Linked DNA regions of Homo sapiens: all the other regions are linked to region 2. Evidence: promoter capture Hi-C in human tissues and cell types (Jung and others, 2019). All regions are on one chromosome and are shown on one strand. Each heading gives the region's core, a stretch centred on a gene start or on the middle of the fragment in contact. The rest is flanking DNA. Distances are from core to core; before and after follow the strand shown. Region 1 overlaps ZNF626 (zinc finger protein 626). Region 2 holds the start of ZNF626 (zinc finger protein 626). Region 3 has its middle 54 kb from the start of ZNF626.

The links. The method cuts DNA at HindIII sites, captures the fragments that hold promoters and counts their contacts. A contact is called where the count stands out against the background at its distance.
Region 1: a contact is called between a fragment that was not itself captured here and the fragment with the promoter of ZNF626 in region 2, in 1 of the 25 tissues and cell types used here (hippocampus).
Region 3: a fragment that was not itself captured here is called in contact with the fragment with the promoter of ZNF626 in region 2 in 1 of the 25 tissues and cell types used here (liver).

Annotation. Positions count from the first base shown.
Region 1 is chr19:20,623,681-20,628,557 of GRCh38, forward strand. It overlaps ZNF626 (zinc finger protein 626), which reads right to left. Exons shown (of 4, transcript NM_001076675.3): 4 at 1-1,970. The coding sequence ends at 610. Among named protein-coding and RNA genes, the nearest start is that of ZNF626, 35 kb to the right of the region's middle. The HindIII fragment of the contact is 4,768 bases long and covers 1-4,616 here.
Region 2 is chr19:20,660,140-20,665,083 of GRCh38, forward strand. It overlaps ZNF626 (zinc finger protein 626), which reads right to left and starts at 1,432. Exons shown (of 4, transcript NM_001076675.3): 1 at 1,305-1,432. The coding sequence starts at 1,307. RefSeq lists a silencer at 1,557-1,626. The HindIII fragment of the contact is 1,409 bases long and covers 429-1,837 here.
Region 3 is chr19:20,713,518-20,717,925 of GRCh38, forward strand. No RefSeq gene overlaps it. Among named protein-coding and RNA genes, the nearest start is that of ZNF626, 54 kb to the left of the region's middle. The HindIII fragment of the contact is 3,860 bases long and covers 1,198-4,408 here.

The DNA of each region.
Region 1 (4,877 bases), core at 983-3,482, 36 kb before region 2:
CCCCCTTACTTGGGAGGTTGAGGCAGGAGAATGGATTGAACCCAGAAGGCGGAGGTTGCAGTGAGCCGAGACTGTGCTATTGCACACCAGACTGGGTGACAAGAGTTGAAACTCCATCTCAAAAAAAAAAAAAAAAAGACAGAACTTGTTATATGCTTTGCCACATTCTTCACACTTGTAGGGTTTCTTTCCAGTATGAATTATGTGTAATAAAGGTTGAGAAGTTCCTTAAAAAATCTGTCACATTCTTTATATTTGTAGAGTTTATATTTCATATCAATTCTTAGTTAGAAATTGAGGGCTGGTTAAAAGATTTTCCCCATTCATCACATTCACATGGTTTCTCTCCAGTATGAATTATCTTATGTGCAGTAAGGTGTGAGGATAGGTGAAAAGCTTTACCACATTATTCACATCTGTAGGGTTTCTCTCCAGTATGAAATCTCTTATGTGTAGTAAGTTTAGAGGAGTGCTTAAAGGCTTTGCCACATTCTTCACATCTGTAGGGTTTTTTTCCAGTATGAATTTTCTTATGTGTAGTAAGGTTAGAGAAATGCTTAAAAGCTTTGTCACATTCTTCACATTTGTAGAATTTCTCTCCAGTATGAATTATCTTATGTGTAGTAAGGTGTGAGGACCGCTTGAAGGCTTTGCCACATTCTTCACATTTGTAGAATTTCTCTCCAGTATGATTCTCTCATGTGTAGTAAGGATTGAGGACTGGTTGAAGGCTTTGCCACATTCTTCACATTTGTAGGGTCTCTCTCCAGTATGAATTTTCTTATGTGTAGTAAGGTTAGAGGAGCACTTAAAAGCTTTGCCACATTCTTCACATTTGTAGAATTTCTCTCCAGTATGAATTCTCCTATGTGTAGTAAGGATTGAGGACTGGTTGAAGGCTTTGCCACATTCTTCACATTTGTAGGGTCTCTCTCCAGTATGAATTTTCTTATGTGTAGTAAGGTTAGAGGAGTACTTAAAAGCTTTGCCACATTCTTCACATTTGTAGGGTTTCTCTCCAGTATGAATTATCTTATGCGTAGTAAGGTCTGAAGACCGCTTGAAGGCTTTGCCACATTCTTCACATTTGTAGGGTTTCTCTCCAGTATGAATTCTCTTATGTGTAGTAAGGGTAGAGGAGTACTTAAAGGCTTTGCCACATTCTTCACATTTGTAGGGTTTGTCTTCAGTATGAATTCTTTTATGTGTAGTAAGGGTATAGGAGTACTTAAAGGCTTTGTCACATTCTTCACATTTGTAGGGTTTTTCTCCAGTATGAATTATCTTATGTGTAGTAAGGGTTGAGGACCGGTTGAAGGCTTTGCCACATTCTTCACATTTGTAGGGTTTCTTTTCCGTATGAATTATCTCATGTTTACTAAGGGTTGAGGATGACATAAAGGCTTTGCCACATTTATCACACTTGTAGGGTTTCTCTCCAGTATGATTTCTCTTATGTGTAGTAAGAGTGGAGGAGTGCTTAAAGGCTTTGCCACATTCTTCACATTTGTAGGGTTTCTCTCCAGTATGAATTTTCTTATGTCTAGTAAGGCTACAAGAGTGGTTAAAGGCTTTGCCACATTCTTCACATTTGTAGGGTTTCCCTCCAGTATGAATTTTCTTATGTGTAGTAAGAGTTGAGAACTGCTTAAAAGCTTTGCCACATTCTATATATTTGAAAGGTTTTTTCCCAGTATGTCCTCTCTTTTGTCCGTTTGAATTTGGAAATTGATGAAGGACTTTCACATATTTATCACATTGACATATTTTTCTTGGGGTAGTTGTCAAACATTGGTTAAGTTCATTATAACCTTCTTTGTGCACCTTACACTCATCCACACTTATACATCCTTTTTTTAACTGTAAATTGTCATGTTCACATTTTTCATATCTTCTCAGTACCACTTTTTGGAAAGAATCTTTCATGCTCTGCTCTGGCCAAAGGTCTTGGGCAAAATGAGAACACATTACTGAAAGAAACAATAAAAACACATTACTTCAATTGGTAGACTCAGATAAATATAAATATATATATGCAGTTTGTATAGTTTTATACAAACTACATAAGCAAGATGACACAGGAAAATACCACAAGCTGTAATTTCTTCCTGGACATATGAATTTAACAAAAACATACTGATCAAAATACATTTGTAAAAAACTTATAATAAGTTGTGAAGGGCCCCAGGTGAGCACAATGCAAACGGCCAAATAGAAGAAATAGAAAAGTCTGTTACTTATACACAACACAGCTGGTTTTGCTCTCCAGTATAACATTGTGCCTTTAAAAGTAAATTGTTGACTGGCTGGGGTGACACACGCCTGTAGTCCCAGCATGTTGGGAGGCTGACGTGGGTGGATCAGAAGGTCAGGAGTTCAAGACCATCTTGGCAAAGATGATGAAATTCAATCTGTACTAAAATTACAAAAAATTAGCTGGGTGTGGCGATGGGGCACCTGTAATCCCAGCTACTCAGAAGGCTGAGGCAGAGAACTGCTTGAACCTGGGAGGTGGAGGTTACAGTGAGCTGAGATTCCCAGAATCTCTAGTTAAGACAATTGATTTCAGACTATGCCAGGACACAGCTACATTATAAAGATTGTAACAGGTAGCATTTTGTTAATGTAAAAATCTCAAAGATTACAATAAATACAAAATAGTAGAGCAACGTGATCCCATCAAAAAGTTATAAAATTTTTAAAGCAACCATAAAATGTATATGAGGTAATTTAAAAAATTCCCAATAAGTTGTACAGGTCAAGCTTAGTGGCTCATTCCTGGAATCCCAACACACTAGGGGGCCAAGGTGGGAAAACCACATTAGGTGAGAATTTGAGACCAGCCTGGCCAACATGGTGAAACCCTGTATCTACTAAAAATACAAAAACTAGCTGGGCATGGTGGCATGTGCCTGTAATCCCAGCTACTTGGGAGGCTGACACACAACACAAGAATTGCTTGAACCTGGGAGGGGACAGTTGCAGTGAGTGAATATTGTACCACTGCACTTCAGACTGGATGACAGAGCAAGACTGTCTCAAAAATAAAATAGGCTGGGCGCAATGGCTCATGCCTGTAATCGCAGCAACTTAGGAGGCCACCTTGGCCTCCTAATTTGAGGTCAGGAGTCCAAAATTAGCCTGGCCAACATGGTAAAAACCCATCTCTGCTAAAAATACAAAAAATTAGCTGGAATGCTGGCAGCCACCTGTAACCCCAGCTACTTGGGAGACAGAGGCCGGAGAATTGCTTGAACTCGGGAGGCAGAGGTAGCTATGAGCTGAGATGGCGCCACTGCACTCCAGAGCCTGGGTGACAGAAAAAGACTCCATCTCAGAAAAACTAACTAAATAAATAAATTTGAATAACATTAGGTAAGTGAAACAAACAAGTACTGAAGATAAAAATGAGGATAATAATAAGAAATATTGAAATAGCAAAAAAACAAAAATTGTGGATATAAAAAATGCAAAAAACAATTGAAAAATTTCTTAAAAGGAAAAATGATGTAAACATGAAAAAGCTGAAGAAACAAACTAGGATACACACAAAGATATTTGTAACAAACACACATACAAGCAAACCTTCAAAAATCATAGATAAGAAGAGAATTTTAGGAGCTGTAATGTAGGCAGATGTAATGATGAAGAATTTTTGTATTCAACTGAAGTTTATTTTTTACCACATTCAAATATATTGTTGGATCTTTTAGAGGTTTTATGTAATCTCCCAAAGTACCACTAAGAAAATATTTGTATGGATACACAAAAGAAAATTTAAAAAATCCTGGAAAAATACCAATACAAAAAGCAAAAAACCACGAAAACCACAGAAAGAAAAGGAAAGACAAAGATATAAGAATCAAATAAAACAAATAATAAAATAACATTAGTAAGTTTTTCTCTTTCAGAAAACCATTTAAATATATATATAATTATCTTTCCAATCAAGAGATATACTTTCAATAAACAGGTTTATTAAAAAATTTTAAAAATCAAGAGTCAACTTGCCTTTCTACAGGAGTCAGTTGAGATCTACTGACAAAAAAAGACTGAAAGTGGCAAGACAGAAGTAGAATTTCATGTAAATATATTTTTAAATTTTATTATTATTACACTTTAAGTTTTAGGGTACATGTGCACAACGTGCAGGTTTGTTACATATGTATACTTGTGCCATGTTGGTGTGTTGCACCCATTAACTCGTCATTTAGCATTAGGTGTATCTCCCAATGCTATCCCTCCCCCTGCCCCTGACGCCACAACAGTCCCCGGTGTGTGATGTTTCCCTTCCTGTGTCCATGTATTCTCATTGTTCAATTCCCACCTATTAGTGAGAACATGCGGTGTTTGGTTTTTTGTCCTTGCGATAGTTTGCTGAGAATGATGGTTTCCAGTTTCATCCATGTCCCTACAAAGGACATGAACTCATCATTTTTTATGGCTGCATAGTATTCCATGGTGTGTATGTGCCACATTTTCCTAATCCAGTCTATCGTTGTTGGACATTTAGGTTGGTTCCAAGTCTTTGCTATTGTGAATAGTGCTGCAATAAACATACATGTCCATGTGTCTTTATAGCAGCATGATTTATAATCCTTTGGGTATATACCCAGTAATGGGATGGCTGGATCAAATGGTATTTCTAGTTCTAGATCCCTGAGGAATCACCACACTGACTTCCACAATGGTTGAACTAGTTTACAGTCCCACCAACAGTGTAAAAGTGTTCCTATTTCTCCACATCCTCTCCAGCACCTGTTGTTTCCTGACTTTTTAATGATTGCCATTCTAACTGGTGTGAGATGGTATCTCATTGTGGTTTTGATTTGCATTTCTCTGATGGCCAGTAATTATCAGCATTTTTTCATCTGTTT
Region 2 (4,944 bases), core at 182-2,681:
ATCCCAGCTACTGGTGGGGCTGAGGTAGGAGAATCGCTTGAACCCAGTAAGCCGAGATCACGCCATTACATTCCAGCCTGGGCACCACAAGCGACACTGTGTCTAAAAAAAAAAAAAAAAAAAAAAAAATACCCTGTTGCAGGCTTAATATTAGCCTTAGCTTGGAGTCACTAGGTTCAAGCTTTAATGTCCACATCAGTTATTCACTTGGTTTTTGAAACTAAGTGTTAGAAACTCCAGTGAAATTACTCACAATGTTTACATAAAGGAATTTTTAAGATGCTTACTTTTTTTTTCTTTTTTTTGAGCCGGAGTCTCGCTTTGTCACGCAGGCTGGAGCGCGATGATTGGATCTCAGCTCACTGCAACTTCCGCCTCCCGGGTTCAAGCAATTCTCGTGCCTCAGCCTCCCAAGTGGCTGGTACTACAGGCACGTGCCAACACGCCGATAGTTTTCGTATTTTTAGTAGAGACGGGTTTCACCACGTTGGCCAGGCTGGTCTAGAACTCCTGACCACGTGATCCACCTGCCTCGGCCTCCGAAGTGCTGGGATTACAGGCTTGAGCCACCGCGCCCAGCAAGAAAGGGGTTTTGAACCCTAATGCAGTTCCTGTTTTTGTTTCCATCCCCTATTGGCTGGGATCAGACCGCACAATCTAAGCTGATCCTGGTAAGCTTAGACCCAAACTTTTTCCAAATAAAGTAAATGCGCGATTTGCGAGAAAAGGAAAAGGGGGTAGAAGAAGAGGTAGGGTTGATTTACAACTTTTACAACTTATGACCAGAAAGTTGAGTCATTTAAAAGGAACTTAGTTGTCCTAACACCTCTTTACCTCAAGTGATCCGCCCGCCTCGGCCTCCCAAAACGTTGGGATTACAGGCGTGAGCCACAGCGTCCGGCCCCATACATTTTTAATAGGAGAAAAGAGAAACTGTAAACCCAAAGGAACAAAGCTCTTCCCATTCATGAACCCGCACCCCGAGTCAGGATTCTCCCCTGCCCACCCTCCCCTGGTCCCTGCACAATCTGGGAGAGACGCCACGCTGCGGGTGCAGAGCTGCCCAGAGAGGGCTCCAGGCCAGGGTAGTCACCGCGCAGTGAAGAGACAAGACGCCCGGGTGCCGGCTGTCAGCGCAGCTGCCATTTTATGGCTGAACAGGACTGAGGCCGAGCTGAGCAAGGAGAACTGGGGGAGCAGACTGTGGAGCTGACTGCGGGGAGGCCTGAGTCCCGCCACAGCCACTTTTCACCGGTTCCAACCAGTCCCTCTCCTCTCTCGGGATGTCGGACCCTCACTCTCACCATTTTTGGCTTCCAGGAGGTCCCGGTGTCTTAGCTGTGGATCTCCCAATACCTGCAGGACACGGGGCCACACAGCCTGGGCCTTTAGGAGAAGAACCAGACCTGGAGCTCTGACTGCAGCGAGAGACAAAGGCCGCACCAAACCCGGAAACCGTCCTCTTCGCTCCAGCTGCGTTCCTGATTGGATGGTTTCCAGCCCACCATCCCTGATTGGATAATGCTTAAGGCCCCGCCCCCTGAGGCCCTGAGTGACAGTAGATGTGATCAGACGCTGAGCTGAGTGAAGAAAGAGTGACAGCCTAAGCTGCAGCCTTTTCAGGCAGGGCTTCCTTCCTGAGCTGAGCCAGGCCCACCCCAGAGCATGGGAGAATTCTATCTTTTCTTTACTCTCTCTCTTTTTGAATGTATTCAAAAGGTGAACAGAAGTATTTTGCTCTCATATTAATAATACATAAAATTTTTGTTCAAGAGAAAATCAACTTTTACTTTGGCAATAATGTATTATCAATACTAAAGGTAATTTTGATAAAACCTTATAAAAAATCAAATTTGTCATTTTTGACCTCTCGAGATTTACATACATATTTTGTAATCTAATGTAATTTTTTAACTTTTTATATTTTATTTTTATCTACATTCTTTTTATTTTTTCAATTTGAAACAACCTTTAAGTAATTTCAAACTGTTACAAGAGACAAAGAAATCATTTAGGGCCAGTCCGCTGGTGCACGCTTGTAATCCAAGCACTTTGGGAGGCCAAAGTGGGTGGATCACTTCAGGTCAGGAGTTCAAGACCAGCCTGGCCAACATGTTGAATCTCATCTCTAGTAAAAACACAAAAAATTAGCCAGGTGTGGTGGTACACACCTGTAGTCCCAGGTGCTACGGCGGCTGAAGCAGGGGAATCGCTTGAACCCAGGAGGCGGAGGTTGTGTAACGGCCTAAGGGCTTCATCTTGCCTAGACAGAGATGATTCATCAAGACAGGGGAATTTGTGGAGGAAAAGTTAAATATTAAATTTGAACTCAGTTGAACATGGACACAAACAATGGTCACCAAGTCCTGGAACAGGTTATGTGAGCCCCTTGAGGCATTCACCTGCCGACCTTCCCCTGGTCCCTGCACAATCTGGGAGAGACGCCATGCTGCAGGTGCAGAGCTGCCCAAAGTGGGCTCCAGGCCAGGGCACAGTCACAGCGCAGTGAAGAGGCAGGACTTCTGGGGGCCTGGCTGTCAGCGCAGCTGCCATCTTCTGGCTGAATGGGACTGAGGCCAAGCTGGGCAAAGAGAACTGGGCACAGATTGTTTTGGAGAAATCTCTATTTTAATCTATTCCTATACGTTAGTTATTGAAAAACAATAGCCAATCGCAAAAAAAACAAGTTGACTTTTTTGTGTTCCTTGAGCCCAGTTGCAAAGAGCCCAGTTGCAACTGGGCCTCATGCCAAACAACTTGTTACAAAAAGAGCTAGGATCCCAGACTGCACCAAAGCTCCAAAGACCTCTCCTTGTCTGTACAGGGATGGGTGGCCGACTCTGGAGCCCAGGCTGTTGCTTCCTGGTCTGCTGATGAATCCTCCATAGTCTGGTGAGTGTAAAGATATATATTTTTTCTCTTCTCCCCTTCCCATTGCAATGCTCTTATTATATCAATTTGCTTATTATATATGCATTGCCATTTACCTGGGATAAAGCTTGTTTACCCTTAAAGGTATTGTGTGCGTGTCTTTTCTTCTCCCCTCATGTGTTTCCTGCACAGAACATATTTCTCAAAGGCTTCATTTGTTCCTTTTTATTCATTTTTGTTTAATCTTGTCTGCATGCCTTATTTTGGCAAGGTGGTCTTCAAACTCTGATGTTCTTTCTTCTGCTTGGTCAATGCAGCTACAAATACTTTTGTATGCTTCAGGAGGTTCTCATGCTGTGTGTTTTAGCTCCATCAGATCATTTATGTTCCTGTCTAAACCAGTTATTCTAGTTAGCAGTTCCTCTAACCTTTTATCAAGGTTCTTAGCTTCTTTCAATTGGTTTAGAACATGTTCCTTTAGCTCAGCAGAGTTTATTACCCATCTTCTGAAGCCTACTTTTGTCAATTCATCCATCTCATCCTCTGTCCAGTTCTGCACCCTTGCTGAAGAGACATTTTGATAACTTGGAGGAAAAGCCGCACTCTGGCCTTTCAGAGTTCTTTTGTTGATTCTTTCTCATCTTCATGAACTTGTCTAGTTTTGATCTTTGAGGCTGTTGACAACTGAATGGTTGTTTCTGTTTTGTTTTGTTTTGTTTTGAGACAGAGTCTCACTCTGTCACCCAGGCTGGAGGGCAGTGGCACAATCTCGGCTCAATGCAACCTTCGCATCCCAGGTTCAAGTGATTCTCGTGTCTCAGATTCCCGAGTAGCTGGGATTACAGGCATGCAACACAACGCCTGGCTAATTTTTGTATTTTTTAGTAGAGATGGGGTTTTGCCATGTTGGCCAGGCTAGTTTTGAACTCCTGACCTCAAGTGATCTGCCTGTCTCAGCCTCCCAAAGTACTGAGATTACTGGTGTGAGCCACCATGCCCGGCCTTGGATGGGGTTTTTGTCGGTACTTTTTTGTTGTTGATGTTGTTGTTTTCTGTTTGTTTGTTTTTCTTTCAGTGGTCAGGTCCCTCTTCTGTAGGGCTGCTGCAGTTTGCTGGGGGTTCACTTCAGGCTCTATTCATCTGGTTCACTCCTGTTCCTGGAGATGTCAATCAAGGAGGTTGGAGAATAGCAAAGAAGAGTGTCCGCTCCTTCCTCTGGGATCTCTGACCTCAAGAGGCACCAACCTGATGCCAGTAGGATCGCTCCTGTATAGGGTGTCTGACAACCCCTGTTGAAGGGTCTCACCCAGTTGGGTGGCATGGAGAGGAGAACCCATTTAATGAAGCACTTTGTTCCTTGGTGGAGGGGAGTGTTTTGCTGGGGGGAAACCCACTCATGTGGGCTGCCCACATTTTTCAGAACTAGCAGGAGGAAAGGCTAAGTCTGCTGGTCCACAGAGACTGCAACTGTAGCAGGACGAGCCACAGACAAAACTCCTCAGACACTGAGTTAAAGAAGGAAGTGGTTTATTCGACCGGGAGCATCTGGCAAGACTCCTGTCTCAAGAGCCGAGCTCCCCGAGTGAGCAATTCCTGTCCCTTTTAAGGGCTCACAACTCTAAGGGGGTCCACGTGAGAGGGTTGTGATGGATTGAGCAAGCAGGGGGTACGTGACAGGTGCTGCATGCACCGGTGGTCAGAGTGAAACAGAACAGACCGGGAAGTTTCACAATGTCTTTTCTATACAATATCTGGAATCTATAGATAACATAACCGGTTAGGTCAGGGGTTGATCTTTAACTACCAGGCTTAGGTCAGGCAGGCTCAGGCCTGGTTTCAGGTCTGGTTCCCTGGTTTTGTGTCTGGTTTTGTTTCGCTTTTCTTTTCTTTTCTTTTCTGAGTACAAAACAATATAAAACAATATGAGAGGGTCTGTCTCTCTTCTCTCACAGCCACCCCTTCCCCTAGGGGCTCAGGTCCAGGGACATCAGAATTCTGTCCCTGAGTTCCTGACTGGAGCTGTTGGAGTTCCTGCAGGGAGGCCCAGCCCAGTGTGGAGGGATGAGTCAGGGT
Region 3 (4,408 bases), core at 1,878-4,377, 55 kb after region 2:
CCTGAAGTGCAAACCTGAACTGCATGAGTAACCTGACTTAGTGTCAGCTTATTTCTGAGGCCTATGCTACTGAAGATTAAGGATTTTTTATGTTTATAATATTGTATGTCTATGTTCAATTCTGAAATGCTACTGAGCAAAAGAGATTGAAAGTAATTATATATCTGTAATTATATATCAATTCTGAAATGCTACTGAGCAAAAGAGATTGAAAGTAATTATATATATGTATATAAGTTCTAGATCCATGAGGATCTAGAACTAGAAATATGATTTGACCCAGCCATCCCATTACTGGGTATATACCAAAAGGATTATAAATCATGCTACTATAAAGACACATGCACATGTATGTTTATTGTGGCACTATTCAAAATAGCAAATACTTAGAACCGTCCCAAATGTCCATCAATAATAGGCTGGATAAAGAAGATGTGGTACATATACGCCATGGAATACTGTGCAGCCATAAAAAAGCATGAGTTCATGTCCTTTGCAGGGATATGGATGAAGCTGGAAACCATCATTCTCAGCAAACTATCACAAGGATTGAAAACCAAACACCATATGTTCTCACTCATAAGGGGAGTTAATCAATGAGAACACATGGAACAGGGAGGGAAACATCACTCACTGGTGCCTGTTGGGAGGTGGGGGGTTGGGGGAGGGATAGCATTAGGAGAAATACATAATGTAAATGATGAATTGATGAGTGCAGCAAACCAACCTGGCACATGTATGCCTATGTAACAAACCTGCACATTGGGCACATGTACCCTAGAACTTAAAGTATAATAATAAAAAAAGATTTTAAAAATCATATTCTTAAAGAGTGTAAGCTAAAAGGCAGCTAGTTGATTCTACAAAGGTCAGAAAATTGACTTGTGTGTAAGAAGCCTCACTGATACAAGCTATGAGATTTGGGATCACTGCTTGAATTCATGGAGTCTATCAAAATATCATTATTCCTTTCCACTTTGTAGAATCATGAGTCCTAAGGGTAAATAATATACAGAAATAAAGTAAAATCAGAAGCTTCAAACACTTAACATCTTCAAACTAATAGTACCTATAGTGTCAACCAGAGAATATAAGGGCAACCAGCAGGTGGTGGAAATATCAGCAAACAAAAGAAGGTTGGTGTAAACCAGCTGGCCAGAGTTCTGTGGAAAGAGAATAGTTGCCAAGAGCAAGAGAAATTAAGTCTATCATTTTTCCTACCTGGAAACCACCAAATAGAAATGCCTGTTATACTGGAAGTAACTTGTAAAACAGAAGGTTGTTGAAGAGGTGGGGATGTCATTAAAACATTTTAAAAGCCCATAAAAATCTTAGGAAAATTTCTTACTCTTCAAGAAAGCTTTAAGAGTACATCCAGCATGGGCCACATGTATCTAAGATTACTCAGATCCAGCTGGTTTCTCTTTGACACTTTATGGCAAACTAAAATCTATCTTCCAAAAAAACAGTGAAGCATTGACCTTAGATATTTAATTGTCTATTGAGATGACAACTCAATGACCTTGTCTAGTTTGGAAAATACAAAGAAATAGCCATTTAGGTAACCGTATATGAGCCAGAATTTGGTGGAATCTAATCTTATATATGGCCCTAACTCTGACCATTAATGAGATGTTGGGTTCCATTAGTTCATTTTATTTAAAAATTGGAAAACATATTAATTCTTGCAATAGTCTCATCCCTATGCAAGCAGGTGTCTCTTTGCTTATGAAGATAATTAGACCATAGGTTTGATGGCACTTTGACTTTAAAAAAAAGACTTACTAGGTTGTTTTTTTTTTTTTTCCAAAAAAAGGAGAGACAGTCCTGATTAGGTCTCTGTTGCCAAATCCTAAAGATTCTAGGCCCTATAAAGTGAGACATTAAAAGGATTATGCATCATAATAAGGCCATTCTGGGTAAAGTCATTTCTATTCATCTCCATTACTTTGAGAGTAATCTGTCAAAGACAAATTAACTGCCAGAGGAAACTTATGAAAAAATATTTGTTCTCAAAAGCTGTAACGTATTTATTTTACCTTCAGTCTCCACTTGCCAAAACCATAAATTGCAGAATATCTCCATTAAAGCTCATGCCAAATTCCAAGTCTCTCCTCTGGCTGTCATTTGCGAGATGGCTCCTCTTCAGGTTCCTGTTAGCTATGTGCAAAGACAGCCTAGGCAATGACAAATCAAGAGATAAATAATTTCTGAGATTTCCTGAGTTGATTCTTTCGATCCCAGCACTGCTTTTCATTAGAATTTCTAAGTCCCTCTTCCTATAACAGAACTACCAGCCCCAATGTGCTTGGGAGCAACTTATTTGCTCTGGAAATTAGCACAATATGAAGACTCAAGGCTGAGACCTACAAAACTTGGGTTCAAGTTAAGTTGTTTTTTGTTTGTTTTGTTTGTTTTTATCAAATGGGAGTATGACTTTGAGTTTATCACCTCACATCCTACTTGGAGGATCCAAAGCATTTTTCTTTGAGCGTACTCTTGAGATATCATAAATACAATCCCATTGTTAGGAGAGGTCCCAGAGCCCAATTCCAACCCACTTGTCCTTGAACCTTCTCTAAAACAACCTGAAAAAGAATGGTCTTGGAGCTTATGCCTGAAAGCTTCCATGCCAGAGAACTCACCCCCACCCACTGCCACCACCAGAAAACCAGTCCAGCTGCCCTGTTTGTTTGGTTTGATTCAGTTGTGAAGCAGCTTTGTAGAGAGTGAAGAGCAAGATACTAGAAGGTACACAAACTTCAGTGTTATGGAAAATTGATTGTATTTCTATCCTATGACTAATTATTTGTCCTCACTTTTGTTTACAAAATAGAAGGCTATTATAACCTTGTGTCTTACAAGTTTGGTGATAATTACAAACAGGCTAAGCATTCAGTAAAACATCATTTTTCTCCTATTTGCTCTAACTGAAGACAGGATTACTTTGAATGACCAGAACAGTCGTATGCTTGCAATAGCTAATTTACAATAACTCTAGAGTTCTTGAAGTTTGCCCTAGGGCATTAAAGATGCCAACTATGGCCTATGAGAAATATCAAAGCATGAGACAAGGCCATTCAATAAGAAGAGGTCAGAAATTTCTCAACTGCTGCAAAATTTTTTAGCAATAAACTCATTTCTGGTAAGTCTTTTACATCACCCACTCCTACCTTTACATACAAATGTGAATTATTACCTAATTTTTGTATCAGTGAAAGAATTTGAGGATAGCCTGAAATGATATTGTGGGTTTTGGAGCTTACAAATCTTGGAGAAAACTTATCTCAGAGTCAAACATGGCCTGGTGATTACCTAATTCCCAGGTAGGCCTGTAAAGTCTCTCTGCGATCCTGCTGGCAAATGCTCCCTGTCTTCATTACACAAGACCAGCCACGGAAACAAATGGGTATCAGTTATTTTAACTCCAACTCTTAGAAAGTGCTTGTATTTAAGTTTTTGATCAAATGTATCTATTCATATGTTTTGGAAAATTAAATCGAATAGAGAGATTAAAATGAAAAATAAACTTCCTGCCCCATGCCTAACAGTCTCTAACCTCTTTTCGTACAGGCTAACTGTGTTTGGCCTTTTCTGCATTGCTACAGAGAAATATCTGAGGCTGGATAATTTATAAAGAAAAGAGGTTTAATTGACTCCTGGTTCTGCAGCCTGCACAAGAAATGTGGTGCCAGCATCTGCTCAGCTTCTGGTGAGGCCTCAGGGAGCTTTACTCGGCAGAAGGTGAAACACCTCCCACCAGGCCTCACCGCCAACACTGGGGATTACATTTCAACATGAGATTTGGAAGGGACAAATATCCAAACTATATCAGTAACACTATTTAACTCTTAAAACTATTTCTAGGCTGGGCATGGTGGCTCGTTCCTGTAATCCCGGCACTTTGGAAGGCAGGTCACTTGAGGTCAGGAGTTTGAGACCAGCCTGGTCAACATGGTGAAACCCCACCTCTACAAAAAATTTGAAAATTAGCTGGGTGTGATGGTGCATGCCTGTAATTGCAGCTACTCAGGAGGCTGAGGTGAGAGAAAGGCTTGAGCCTGGGGGGCAGAAGTTGTAGTAAGCCAAGATTATGCCAAGGCACTCCAGCCTGGGGGATAGAGCAAGATTCTGTCCCCACTCCCACACACAAAAAAAAGATTTCTAAACTTATATTTCTGATTATCATCCACCTTTAATCTGTTATTGCACTATATTCCTTGATTAATTTGAAATAGCATTTACTGACGCGCTATTCTGACAAAAGATTTAACTTCCTTATATCATCCCAAGCCTTCCCTTAATACTCCTGCCAGTATGATTCTTTGCCTACTTTTTTTGTTTTTCTATTAATTACTTTTGTAACTTTAAATAAATGTTCACCATTATATTTCTTTTTACAGCAACT